3 separate regions of the Homo sapiens genome follow, and regions 1 and 2 are each linked to region 3. The links are contacts of gene promoters, found by promoter capture Hi-C in blood cells and fetal thymus (Javierre and others, 2016). All regions are on one chromosome and are shown on one strand. Each heading gives the region's core, a stretch centred on a gene start or on the middle of the fragment in contact. The rest is flanking DNA. Distances are from core to core; before and after follow the strand shown. Region 1 holds the start of STARD7-AS1 (STARD7 antisense RNA 1). Region 2 holds the start of ADRA2B (adrenoceptor alpha 2B). Region 3 overlaps KANSL3 (KAT8 regulatory NSL complex subunit 3).

Region 1 (4,244 bases), core at 211-2,710, 410 kb before region 3:
GCAAAAGAATACTAATAGGAACTAGGCAAAATACCTATCACGCTTTGATAGCTTAACTTTTTTGTGAATAAGGTTGTTTGTGGTTATTATTTTAAGTTGCATTTATAAAAGTTATCTTTCCTGCTAGGAAAAGTATTCCCAGTTCTTAAGATAGACTTGCATTTACCCACAATTCATAGTGTGGCACAAATAGCTGCCTGGCATCTGGGTGTTACACCTCCCACACAGGCCATGGTATAAACTTTATTGGGGTATTTCCATTTTTAACCTAACAAAAAATGTGGAATAACAGGTTGTTTCCCTGTGGAGGAAATATCAAGAATAAACAGGCGAGTGTGGAATCTGCGGAGGGAGGGGATTGTCTCTGGTTCCCGAAATCACGGCAAAGTACTTTCTGTGCAGGGAGGGCACAGTTTAAGAATATCTGTTGCAAAGAAAATACAGACACAAGGTAAACCAAAAACCAAAGCAAAGTTTCCCCATGACATTACCTGGAAACTACAGTCTCAGAACTACAGATTAACAAACGTAATCAATGGTACTGGGCTTTTCACAGTTTTGATGACGACAGCATGACTTCAGAGTCTAATGGGACACTATTCCCAAAGTTCTAGTTAACGTCGCAAAAATCTGACCTAATTCTTACAGGTTCAAATGTCTGGGCTGCTGGTTTGTGTAACCTGGACAAAATCGCTTCCAGGCTCTCAATTTTGCCACGAGTCACGATGACAGAGGGCTCTCCTGGCTTTTCTCACAGGCCTGAGTCCCATCTGGATTGAAGTCATTTTGCAAATAGCAGCCCACCACCCTTAGGCCAAATTTAAAATTTGTTTTGAATTTGCACCTTTCTGGTTGTGTTAAAGATTACAGATTACATGAACAAGGGCCTCCATGCCTTCGCTATCTAATTGATTTCTACAGTGTTGTTTCTTTACTGTCTTGCTCGCCCCACTCAAAGTCTCCCTCCTACACACCAGCCTACACACTTTCAGTTCTATTTTATAACCCGACAAATGCAAATTGACACACAGAGACAAATAACAACGCGGTTTGCTGAAGCAGGTTCAATCGACTGTATTGCCAATTAAAAGACCACCGGGTAAACAAGGGCCAACGACCACAGGGCAGGCCCCAGGGTTCACAAGCCCCCCCACCCCACGGCCCAGAAAGAGCTCGCCGCAGCGCCCACCTCTGCAACTCCTCCTCCTGGATCCTCTCCTCGTCCCAAACGAAGACGCCGGCTAACGCCGCCATCAAGGCAGAGGCATGGCCAGGACGGCCGTGCAGCCGGCGCCAGAGGCGGCCGAGGAGAACGCGGCGTGAGCTCTCGGAGTAGAGGCGGCCGTAGAGCTGCGCGATCTGCTGCGCGCGCCGCACGCGCAGGCCCGTGACGAAGCGGCACTGATTGGCCAGAAGCGCCAGCAGGCCCCCGCCCCGCGTCCCCGCCAGCCAGGCGGCCAGCAGCCTCCGCGGGAGCATGCCGCCTCCCGCAGGGCCCGCCGCGAGCTTCCGGGGCCCAAGGAACCAGTCCGGAGGGGCGCAGGCGGTGGTCGCAGCGTCCCCCTAAATGGCCGGCCACGAACCCGTCTCACGGTCCCGCGGCCAGGAGCCGCCGCTCATCTGTCTCTGCAGCCACCGCTGAGGAAGAGTCTCCTCTGAGGGGAGAGTCGGTCATGGCAGCAGACGCCGGGATGGCTCCGCGACTGCTACACCAGGCACTCCTGGGCCCGGGCAGCAGACCAGTCAGCCCTGTGGCTCCTCGGCGACCTCCAGCGGGCGCCCGGGGCCGGGATGCAGGGCGCGCGGACAGAAACGAGACAGACAGCTCAGGCCCAGCAGCACGCAAGCTCCCGCGCCTTCCGCGACTGCCACACGCGCGGCGCGCGCGCACCCTACTTTTTCTCCGCCACCTGGGCCGTGATTGGGCGCGACCTGGGCTCCTGGGTGCTCATTGGCGCCGTGAAGTGCTCGTCACCGCCCCCTCCTGCCCCTTCATGCATGCGCGGAGGCCGCCTGCTAGCAAGGTAGGTGGCTCGGCGGCGAGAGCCGTCAAGGGCGCATTGGAGAGTGACCCTCGGACCCGGCTGCCGCCGTCGCCGCCATCTTCCGGCCGTCCCAGCCCCGCCCCGCGGAGAAACCTGGCCAGGTTCCTGTTAGAATCCTGCCAGGTGTTAACTTGTTTTAAGAGGCCGGCACGCTGGCCCCCTTCTTTATTAGAGTGCAGGGTGGGGGCGGGGCTCCGCATGTCTCTGCGGGGGCTGGGGGCTCCCAGTGATAACCGCCATTGCAGAATTAAAACTGAGACAGTGAAAGAGATCTGACCTAACCAATTCCATCTTGCTTCTGTCCTTGTTCATTCCTGAGCTTAGGTGAACTAATTTTGGGAGGAACTTAGTTTATAGTTTAAAATAAAGAGGATAACAGCCCTTTCCCAAAACAAATCTTCTTATCTGGGAACTAGACTGCCTTTGTAGGACTAATAAGTTAGCCATAAGATTGGAAATTATGGTTTAGGAGTCATGCAGCTGGAGGCTACGATATTGTGATCCCCCTAAACTGCTCTTAAGATCAGTGCTTGAGATATTTTGCTGACCCCGCACTGGTTGGATCCTGGCACCACCCAGATGGATAAACTGGCTCATCTGACCTTGTGGCCCCCACCCAGGAACCAACTCAGTGCAAGAGGACAGCTTCAATTCCCTATTATTTCATCTCGACCCAACCAGTCAACACTCTGGACTCACTGGCCTTCCCCCACCCACCAAATTATCCTTAAACACTCTGATCCCGGAATGCTAAGGGAGACTGATTGAGTAATGTTGAAACAAACTCCAGTCTCATAGTGGGCTCTGCGTGAATTACTCTTTATTGCAGTTCCCCTGTCTTGATAAATCGGCTCTGTCTAGGCAGTGGGCAAGGTGAACCCATTGTACGGTTACAAATTTGGGGGTTCGTCTGGGATACCCCTTGTGGCTACCTGTCCATGGTTCGGTAGCCCCACCTCTGGTGACAGATCCAGAGGCCAGCCTAAGCGGCCACATAGTTCTCTTGGACTAGGGGCTAACTCTGGCACCGTCTCTGCCAGTGGGGCACTGCTAGCCCAATATGCATGGACTTAATCGCAATGGAGAAATAGTCCTGGGGAGACATCCCATAACTGTAGCCCTGTCACAGGGTATCTGTAGCTCCATAGCGGGGCGCTGTAGCCAGGTCATGGAGTGTCTGTAGCTATAGCCCCATCATGGGGTGGCAGGTTGCTGAGTATCCTAGGTGCTGCCAGTGCCTCCTTCCTTCTCCGGACTGATTCTGTAGCCACATGGTGGGTGTCTGTAGCTCCACCATGGGGTGTCTGTCTCAGTTTGGCTCCTGGGGCATCCCAGTTGGCTGTCCCTAACTAGGAAGAGTCTTGGTTCGGGAGACTTCTCAATCAGGAATATTTCAGGGAGATTTGTCAGATGGAGAATAGGAGGATAGTTTGGAAGGGGTACTCTTGGAGTTCTTGGTTAGGGACCTTAATTTGGAAGGCCTTCTGTCTGTCTTGTCTTCGTGTGTGTGTTTGTATATATGGAGGGGATCTCTGAAGGAATTGCTGATGAAAATCCAGCAGGCCTAACTTGGAGAACACTCCTTATTTATCTAGTCACATTCAGTGAGCCCTGAAAGAAGTTTAACAGGCCTGATTCAGGGTGACTGCTCAGAGACCACCCATTGAATTCACGATTCAATGACCCACCGTGCCTGGCCTTAAAAGGATTTTTTCTTAGAAAAAAGAGCTCTAGGCCGGGCATGGTGGCTCACACTTTTAATCCCAGCACTTTGGGAGGCCAAGGCGGGCGGATCACGAGGTCAGAAGATCCAGACCATCCTGGCTAACACGGTGAAACCTCGTCTCTACTAAAAATACAAAAAATTAGCCGGGCGTGGTAGTGGGCACCTGTAATCCTAGCTACTCGGGAGGCTGAGGCAGGAGAATGGCGTGAACCCGGGAGGTGGAGCTTGCAGCAGTGAGCCGAGATCGCGCCACTACACTCCACCCTGGGCGACAGAGCGAGACTCCGTCTCAAAAAAAAAAAAAACAAAGTTGACTTATAGAGCCAATAAGCCAAAAAATTGACTTATAGAGCCCCTTGGGAAATCTGGCCTCATACTATGTCAACACAGTCCCTGTACGAGGTTCCTGACCTGTGGTAAGTAAAGAATGTCACTTTCTAACAGGCTCAGGAGACCTAAGTTATCTTGACACC
Region 2 (4,099 bases), core at 3-2,502, 500 kb before region 3:
AAGGGCAGCCCAACTGGGTGGCAAGGCCCGGGTCCCAGTATCTTCAGGGGTCTCCCCCTCCTCCTTCTCCCCAGTGGACTTCGAGTGTCCGTTGACCTCTCTGGCAGAAGCCACAGAGGCCAGGGCTGGCAGTTTGGCTGAGGCCAAAGCCCCACCATGGTCGGGTCGGGGCTGCTTGGACTCACCCTGCCCAGGCCCCCCCTTGGCCCTGGGACCTCTGCGGTTGCTGCGTTTGGCGATCAGGTAGATGCGCAGGTAGACAAGGATCATGATGAGGCAAGGAGCAAAGAAAGATCCGATGCTGGAGGCCAGGATGTACCAGGCCTCCTGGTTGAGCTTGCACTGGGGGCGCCCGCGCGGCTGGGGGCCCTGGTCGCCCTTGTAGATGAGGGGCGGCAGCGAGATGACGGCGGCGATGAGCCACACAGTGAGGATGATGCACTTGATGCGGCGCGGGGTGCGCTTGGAGTTGTACTCCAGCGCGCGGCTCACGGCCCAGTAGCGGTCCAGGCTGATGGCGCACAGGTGCACGATGGACGAGGTGCAGAAGAGCACGTCGAGCGCCAGGTACACCTCGCACCACGTGCGCCGGAAGTACCAGTAGCCCAGCAGCTCGTTGGCCAGCGAGAAAGGGATGATGAGCGTGGCCACCAGGATGTCGGCGGCGGCCAGCGACACCAGGAACAGGTTCTGAGGGGCGCGCAGCGAGCGGCTGGTCAACACAGCCAGGATGACCAGAGCGTTGCCGAAGATGGTAAAGAGAATGAGGAAGGTGATGGCCGCCGCTATGGCCGCTGTGGCCTGCACGGAGTAGGGGTCCTGGTGGTCCATGACGGGGCGGGAGGTGGGCAGAGGGAGCGCTGCCCGCCCAGTGCGCACCGTGGACGACAGCGCTGCCCGGCTCGGCTAGACAAGAGCGTCGCCCCTCGGGCGGCGCCGAGGGCGCTGGAGCCCCATGGCCTGGACGAGCGGGGCCTAGGAGGTCGGGAACACCCAGGACCAGCAGCCGCCCTCCTACATCCTCCTCCACCGGTGCCCGGGGTCCCTGCCGTCCGCCCCAGAGAAGTTTCCCAAGTTGTCCCGCCGCCGTCCCCGTCCCGCCCGGGACCGGAGAAAGTCGCGCCCTCCCGCCACGCGGATGCCGTACGCTCTGGGGGCGCGGGCCGGGCTGGGCCGGTTCTTAAAGGAGGCGCGGAGGACCTTGCGCCCGCTCAGCTCGCAGGCTTTCGCCCCAGCCGCGCCTGCAGGGGAGTGGGGAGCGGGGAGAGCGGCTGGAGGAAGGCGGAGACTGGAGGCGGGCGCGGGAGCGGGCGGGAGGCGGGGCGGTGGGCGGACCGAGGTGGGCTGAAGGTGCGCTTCGCGGGAGGCGTGAGCCCGGGACTTCCCGCGCCCGGACCCCGCCCAGCGCCTCTACCTGCCTTCCTCCCGGCGGCCGCGCCTCGGGAGAGCGGAGGGGCCCGGCGGCCGGGGTCTCCGGCCCCCAGGCAGGACGCGCGCAGCTGTGGAGGGGTCGGTGGGTGCCGGGAGCCGGGACGCGGAGCTAGCGCGCGGGCCGGCACCGGGACGGGACACTTCTCCCGGGGGAACCGGGCTGGGCCCGGCGCCGGTGCGCCCTGCTCTGCCTTCCGCCGCTCGGGAGCCCGCAGGGAGGGCAGGGCGGGCGTGGGGCTGGGGCGCCGGGTCGCAATACACCACAACCCCGCCCGGCTCGGCCGTGGAGACGCCCTGCGGAGAGGTGGGGGAGCGGGGAGCGGGGAGCCGGTCCCGACCCTTTCCCAGGCGCTGCCCCTCGCGGACCAGCTCCGTCGGGCCAGCGCCGCGCGAGGAGGGCGCGTCCCGGCCTGCGAGCGCCCCCTGCTGCCGCCCGCGGGCCCAGCCCGTCAGCGGCAGCCCGGGTCCCGGAGCCAGCGCTCGCAGCCTGGGTCTTAGGACTTCGGCTTCTTGTGTCTCCGCAGCTGCCTCAGTTTCCTCCATTAAGGGCAAAGGAGGTAACAGGGAAACTGGCTTGGACTCGAATCACAGCATCAACTGCGATTCAGCCAAGGGTTTGTACGGGGCACAGGGCGAGCTGCCGCCCCTTGACTAATGCGAAGGGGAGGTCCCTTCCTTGCCGTGGGGGAGTAAAGGGTGGGGACTTTGTCACACAGCTCCGAGAAAAAGCAGGTCTCAGGGGCAGCCGTGAAGAGAGGAGCGTCCCTCCGCTTCTGTAGTGACCCCGGGGGAAGGGGTTGACCCTCCCTCCCTGCTGCGGTCCTGCCCCACATACACACTGAAGCCCTTCTGGGGGTGACAGTGGAAAGAGGGTTGGGGTAAAAAGAAACTTCAGACTAAGGCCCCCCACTCGCCTTCAAAGCGCTATGAGCAACTGTTCTCCCTCAGGGCCCCAACTCACTCTCCCTGCCACACCGCCACCAGCACCAGCCTGGGCAGCCCTGAGGGCATGTTTCCCCGGTTCTGGAGCCCCTAATGTCATAAGCCCCGCCTCGAGCCAGGCCTCTTATTCACAGCCCACGACTCTGCAAGGCATCCTCTGTATAAATAAGCACCAATCCACCTCTGACAGTGGGGCTCCCCCAGGCCCCGTCCAACCTGCTGGACCTCCTCTCCTCCCTGCTCCCTCCATGGGAGCAGAGCACGTGGCCTCTCAGTGCCCACGGACAATGTCTAGCGCCTCCCCAGGCTCAGGTGGGAGGTGCCCCGTCTCAGGTACCCAGACCAGCACCCCCAGCCACGGGGGTGTGTTGGGAGTAGGTGCCTCCTTGATCCCCCCATCCCTGTCATTCTGCCAGACTCCCCAGCTTCTGGTGAGGTGCAAGTGCCCACAGCCCATGGGGTGGATGCTGCCAGGGCTGGGTTCGGACAGGGCAATCAGCCTCCTTCCCACCCCCAACCCTAGGCTTCAGCTCAAAACCGACCACTCTGCTAGACACAGTTTCCTGGATGTGTCTTTCCCACCCTCTGGGCTGGGCAGGGCCTGGGCGCCGCCTGGGCATACATAACCAGTGATGGAGAGATGCCAGTAGCTCTTTCCCTGAGGAAGGACAGAGGGTGGCCATGAGAGCCTGGGAGCAGCTACTTAGGCAGGTGCCTGCCTATCCAGGGGCTCCCAAGGCCTTCACAGTCTGGGCCTGCTAGAGGCCCACATGGGCATCGGGAGGAACCGCCTTTCCACTGTCTCCAACCACACTTGGGCTGGGGGCCAGTGAGCAGCTCCCCAGACTCTGCAGCCAGCATCAGCCTTTGTCTTCTGACCCATCTTCCTTCAAGGGATGCTGCAGGAGCTGAGACTGGGTTGCCCGTGTGCCCTCCCCACCCTGCAAGTCCCCACTGAGGACGCTTACCTGGGCCTTCCTAGAAGTGACAACTTTGGGTCTACTGAGTGCCAAGCCTTGCTAGGCATCTTTCATTGGGCCAGCTAGGCACTAGGCCAGGTGGGGACAGCCAGGGACAGAGTCTACAGCTGGCAGACCTGGGAGATGTGTGCCCTCCGGGCAGCAGGAGCTGCCTTGGCATCCATACCGCTGCCCCAGGCTGTCACCGTCTACTGCAGCTGTCTCCTCCTGGCTCCACCCCAGGATGGACAAGTGCAGCGTGGGTGCGCCAGCTCTCCACGGCCACGCAGGCCATAACATAACTCAGCTCCTGCTCCTCTCGGCGGCTCACCATCTCCCCCCGCACACACACACCTTCAGGCCTTGCCTGCTCCAACCAGCCCCATGAGGCTGCCAGGTGCAGGAATTGGAGCCTACTAGCATAGCAAGGCTTCCTTCAGCTCTTCCCAAACTAGACCTGACCTTCCACTGTCATCCTGTTCCACAGGAACGGGCATAGTTCAGTCCCAGACCAGCAACAGCCAGCAGCAGGAGCAGCCGGAGCTTTCCCAGACACATAGCAGGGGAGTGGGCAGCAGGGCACAACCTGGATCCCAGCCCTCCATCCCTGCCCCGCCAGGCCAGTGTTGGATTCTGAATGTGCCCTGGGTCTCCACTCTCTAGACCTTCCCTGGGGCTGTTTGCTCTGATAGAGATGCCCTATCACCCTTCCTTCTGTGTTTGGTGGGCTCCTACTCACATTTCAAGGCCCACTCACCAGTCACCAG
Region 3 (4,045 bases), core at 1,362-3,861:
AAAAAAATAAAAAAAGATACATTAAGTGGGATAAAACAGATTTCTAAACAATGAATATAATAGAATCATATTTTAAAGAAAATATGCTGCACACCTGTAGTCCCAGCTACTCAGGAAGCTGAGACACGAGAATCGCTTGAACCCAGGAGGCAGAGGTTGCAGTGAGCCAAGAGTGTGCCACCGCACTCCAGCCTGGGAAACAGAGGGAGACTGTCTCAAAAAAAAAAAAAAAAAAAAAAAGACAAAATGTTAATAATGATCTCTATGGAGTTTATGGGTGACTTTTTCCTTTACAGATTTCTATGTTCCCTAAATTTCCTCAATGAGTATCAGTTGATTTTATAATATTTTTAAATCTCCATTTTCTTCTAGAGTACTGCCTTCAAGCTGTGGTGTACTAAATAAATCTGTTATTATGTACAAAAATATATATCCTGCTATACTATATACAGTGTACTTTATCTCATGTCTGTTTTTTACTATCTACCAGAAATGTGACATTACAGATGTGCAAATATAGGTTTCAGACATGTTGATGCTTACACTGAGAAGAAATATCTGCGAATTCCATGCTACCCACAAAAGGTCAAAATGACCTAGGGGAAAGGAAAAATGTTTAAATATTAGAGGCAGTTTTCAGAGAAAGAAAAAGGTTTTGAAAAATTGGAGAATAAAAAGTACTACGGTTTGATGCAAGTTGTAAAACTCCAAAAATAGCAGAAGATAAGTTGCTCTTAATTTAAAAACAGGGACACTAAAAGGATTTCTGTATGAGAAATTAGAGAATTATAACCATTAGACTTTCTCAGTTTAACTCAGGAAAGAAATATTCGTGCAACTGCTTTTACAAGGTACCAGGCTAGTACTGCAGAGGAATTTAATCTACAAGAGGTAAGGAAGACAAACACACAAATAATGGTGGGGGACAGGAATAGGGAAAGACCGATAACTGCCATGAAAGAAACAGAAGCCCAAACTGCTATGATTCAAACCACCCAATGGAGAAGAAGTTAAGAGGCAATTTTCATCTAAAGATACAGCATGTGAAATGAGACAGGCTCTTTGGAACAGGCAGGATTCCAACAGAAGATGAGAGAAAAGCCTTCCCATCAGAGACACCAGCAAGAGGCAAGAATGTGTAGAGCTTATTCCAGGCACAGATGGACAAAAGTCAAGGATGCAAGTAAGGAAGGAGGAGGATGTAAAAAGCCAGTAGGAAGGATAGGACCAAACCGCAAAGGATAAGACCAAACTGCAAAGGATCTTCATGTTCTTTGTAACTCACTCTAGAACTGTGAGCCACTCAACACTTTGAGGCAAAGGATGTGACCCTGGGTTAAGCTTTATCTAACAGTAGTATATAGCTTTGAAACCAAAAAGCCTTGACACTTGCTTCCTGTCAACAAGGGATAAAAAATCAATACTGACTTTTCCACTTGGAGCTGGGAAGACCAAGCTTCCCTGGCCCTTCCAGCATTGCATTCACTCTCAACAGCCAATTAAAAGGCTAAGGTCTATACCTTCTCTGCCCTCTTTATCATAATGGATCTAATAGTGAAAGTAGCTGGGTGAAGAGCATGATCCCATCCACCTGCGCTTTCACATCCAGCAGGCACTTTAAAAGTAAAACAATCCTATAATCATTTATATCCTTTGGGAAACAACCAAAGTATTTGTTGTGAATCTAAATATAGTCATGGGAAAATAAGAGTCCGATGGCAGAGGAACCACTGCGGAGAGCACAGCCCAGAGAGGATGTTGCCTTGAGTCTGAGGCCCTTGCTGACTGGTGTACCAGCGAGCCTTCCACTATTCCAGTCAACCCACACCGTGGCCCAGCAGCATGGGAGGAAAACACCCAACTATGCATGCTATGGAGTCCCCCCAGTGGTCTGCCATGCTCATAATATCCGACATGCACCCAGGAGATGTCCAGTCAGTAACTTAAATAGGGCAGCAGTACAAATTCCTCCTTAAAGGGAAATTATGCTAGCCACAGTGAGTGAAGCAGGGTCACCAGAGAACTGAGACCCTGGCCACTACCAACACTCATCTCCTACAGTGTATTCACCAATGTTACACTTTTACCGTAGGTAGAATGCTGAGGAGAACATATGTGAAGATGCCTACGATACTTCTGGGCCACCACTCTCTGTCTGCCAGGATCCAGTCTGGGCCCCACACTCTACCTGCCCACCACTCACCTCCCGGGTCCAGGGTTTCTACTACAGGGGAGCAGTACAGGGGAAAGTCTGGGACTCCCTTTTCATTTGTCTCTTTCTTCACTAGAAAATACACTCCACCAGAGAAGGGACCAGTTTTGTTTTGCTCACCCCAGTACCTGACACACGTAGGGCCCAAAATAAGTATTAGTTAAACAAAAAAACTAGTGTCAAATTTCCTACCATGAATATCATTAATGTATCTAGTCCTGAGTTTTATTTCAGCACTAAACCAGTCTTCTAACAAACTTGGCACCCTTTAACTTAAAAACACATAAGAAACAATGAGTCTGCAAGTTTTGGGGATGTGGCTGAGGGAACGTGTTGGCCAGGCAACTTACAGCAGCAAGATGAGCCAGCTTCCTGTGAAGCAGAAAGTAAAACTATTAAAAAAAAAAAAAAAAGTGTCAAAAACTGAATCATGCTTATGCCTGTAATCCCAGCAATTTGGGAGGACAAGATGGGAGGACTGCTTGAGGCCAGGAATTCAAGACGAGCCTATAGCAAGACCGTCTCTACAAAAAAATTAAAAATTTAGCTGGGTGTGGCAGGGCACGGCAGCTCACGCCTGTAATCCCAGCACTTTGGGAGGCCGAGGCGGGCGGATCACGAGGTCAGGAGATCGAGACATGGTGAAACCCTATCTCTACTAAAAATACAAAAAAAATTAGCTGGGCGGGGTGGCACACGCCTGTAGTCTCAGCTACTCAGGAGGCTGAGGCAGAATTGCTTCAACCCAGGAGGCAGAAGTTGCAGTGAGCCGAGATCGTGCCACTGCATTCCAGCCTGGGCGACAGAGTGAGACTTTGTCTCAAAAAAAAAAAAAAAAAAAATTTCTTTGCTGGGTGTGGTGGTAGCACACACCTCTAGTCCCAGTACTTGGGAGGCTGAGGCAGACGGATTGCTTGAGCCCAGGAGTTCGAAGTTATAGCAAGCAATGATAGTGCCACTGCACTCCAGCCTGAGTGAGAGAGGAAGATCCTGTCTCCAAAGAAAAAAAAAAAAGGCCTCAGACAACTTGGATTGATTTGGTTCTTTCTCTTCTCTCTCTCTCTCTTTCTTAGAGACAGGGACTCCCTCTGTCACCCAGGCTGGAGTGCAGTGGTGGGACTGAACTCACTACAGCCTCCTCCCACCAGCCTCCTAACTAGCTGGGACTACAGACGTGTGCCACCATGCCTGGCTAATTATTTTATTTTTAGTAGAGACAAGGTCTTGCTATGTTGCTCAGGCTGGTCTCAAACTCCTGAGCTAAAGCGATCCTCCTGCCTCAGCCTCCCGAAGTGCTAGGATAATAGGCATGAGCTACTATGCCCGGCCGTGAGGCCATTTTGTATTGGAGCAAAACACCCCAAATATTTCAAGAACCTATGAGGGTACTACTTAAATAACTGTTAATATTAGTAATAATAATTACTGTGGGCTCACTGCTTACTATGTGCCCAATTTTGTGTTAAGCCCCCTACCTGAATTAACTAATTTAATTTTCATAAAAATCCTAGATAGCTATTATTATCAGCCACATTTTAGAGATGAGACACCAGTCCAAGCTTACACAGCTAATCAGTAACAAAGCTGAGATCAGCCAGGCAATCTGCCTCCAGCATCCGCATTCTACCACATTGACGATAGCCTGATGCAATCACTGGAATCACCAAGAAAAACAGTTTAACTTTGTGCAATACTAAGTAAGAAAGCAGGGAACTATAATGATATGTTTGTACTGAATTATAAAAGTCTAAGTGTTGCTACTAAAGGCTCATGCCCTGGGGAGCAGAATTGAAGGCATCACGGCACGTTCCTGCTCTGCAATCTCCCAGTGCT

What was found. The method cuts DNA at HindIII sites, captures the fragments that hold promoters and counts their contacts. A CHiCAGO score of 5 or more calls a contact.
Region 1: the fragment with the promoter of STARD7-AS1 here is called in contact with a fragment that was not itself captured in region 3 in 1 of 17 cell types (non-activated CD4 T cells); the score reaches 5.2 in non-activated CD4 T cells.
Region 2: a contact is called between the fragment with the promoter of ADRA2B here and a fragment that was not itself captured in region 3, in 4 of 17 cell types (total B cells, M0 macrophages, fetal thymus and 1 more). The highest score is 6.9, in total B cells.

What each region holds. Positions count from the first base shown.
Region 1 is chr2:96,206,956-96,211,199 of GRCh38, forward strand. STARD7-AS1 (STARD7 antisense RNA 1) reads left to right here and starts at 1,461. Exons shown (of 4, transcript NR_046322.1): 1 at 1,461-2,024. It overlaps STARD7 (StAR related lipid transfer domain containing 7), which reads right to left and starts at 1,872. Exons shown (of 8, transcript NM_020151.4): 1 at 1,190-1,872. The coding sequence starts at 1,479. RefSeq lists silencers at 1,289-1,548, 1,899-2,118 and an enhancer at 1,566-2,156. The HindIII fragment of the contact is 17,331 bases long and covers 1-4,244 here.
Region 2 is chr2:96,115,319-96,119,417 of GRCh38, forward strand. It overlaps ADRA2B (adrenoceptor alpha 2B), which reads right to left and starts at 1,253. Exons shown (of 1, transcript NM_000682.7): 1 at 1-1,253. The coding sequence starts at 831. RefSeq lists silencers at 1,153-1,242, 1,343-1,502, 1,513-1,972, 2,013-2,082. The HindIII fragment of the contact is 8,066 bases long and covers 1-4,099 here.
Region 3 is chr2:96,614,949-96,618,993 of GRCh38, forward strand. All of the region lies in intron 5 of KANSL3 (KAT8 regulatory NSL complex subunit 3), which reads right to left. Among named protein-coding and RNA genes, the nearest start is that of KANSL3, 21 kb to the right of the region's middle. The HindIII fragment of the contact is 2,315 bases long and covers 1,455-3,769 here.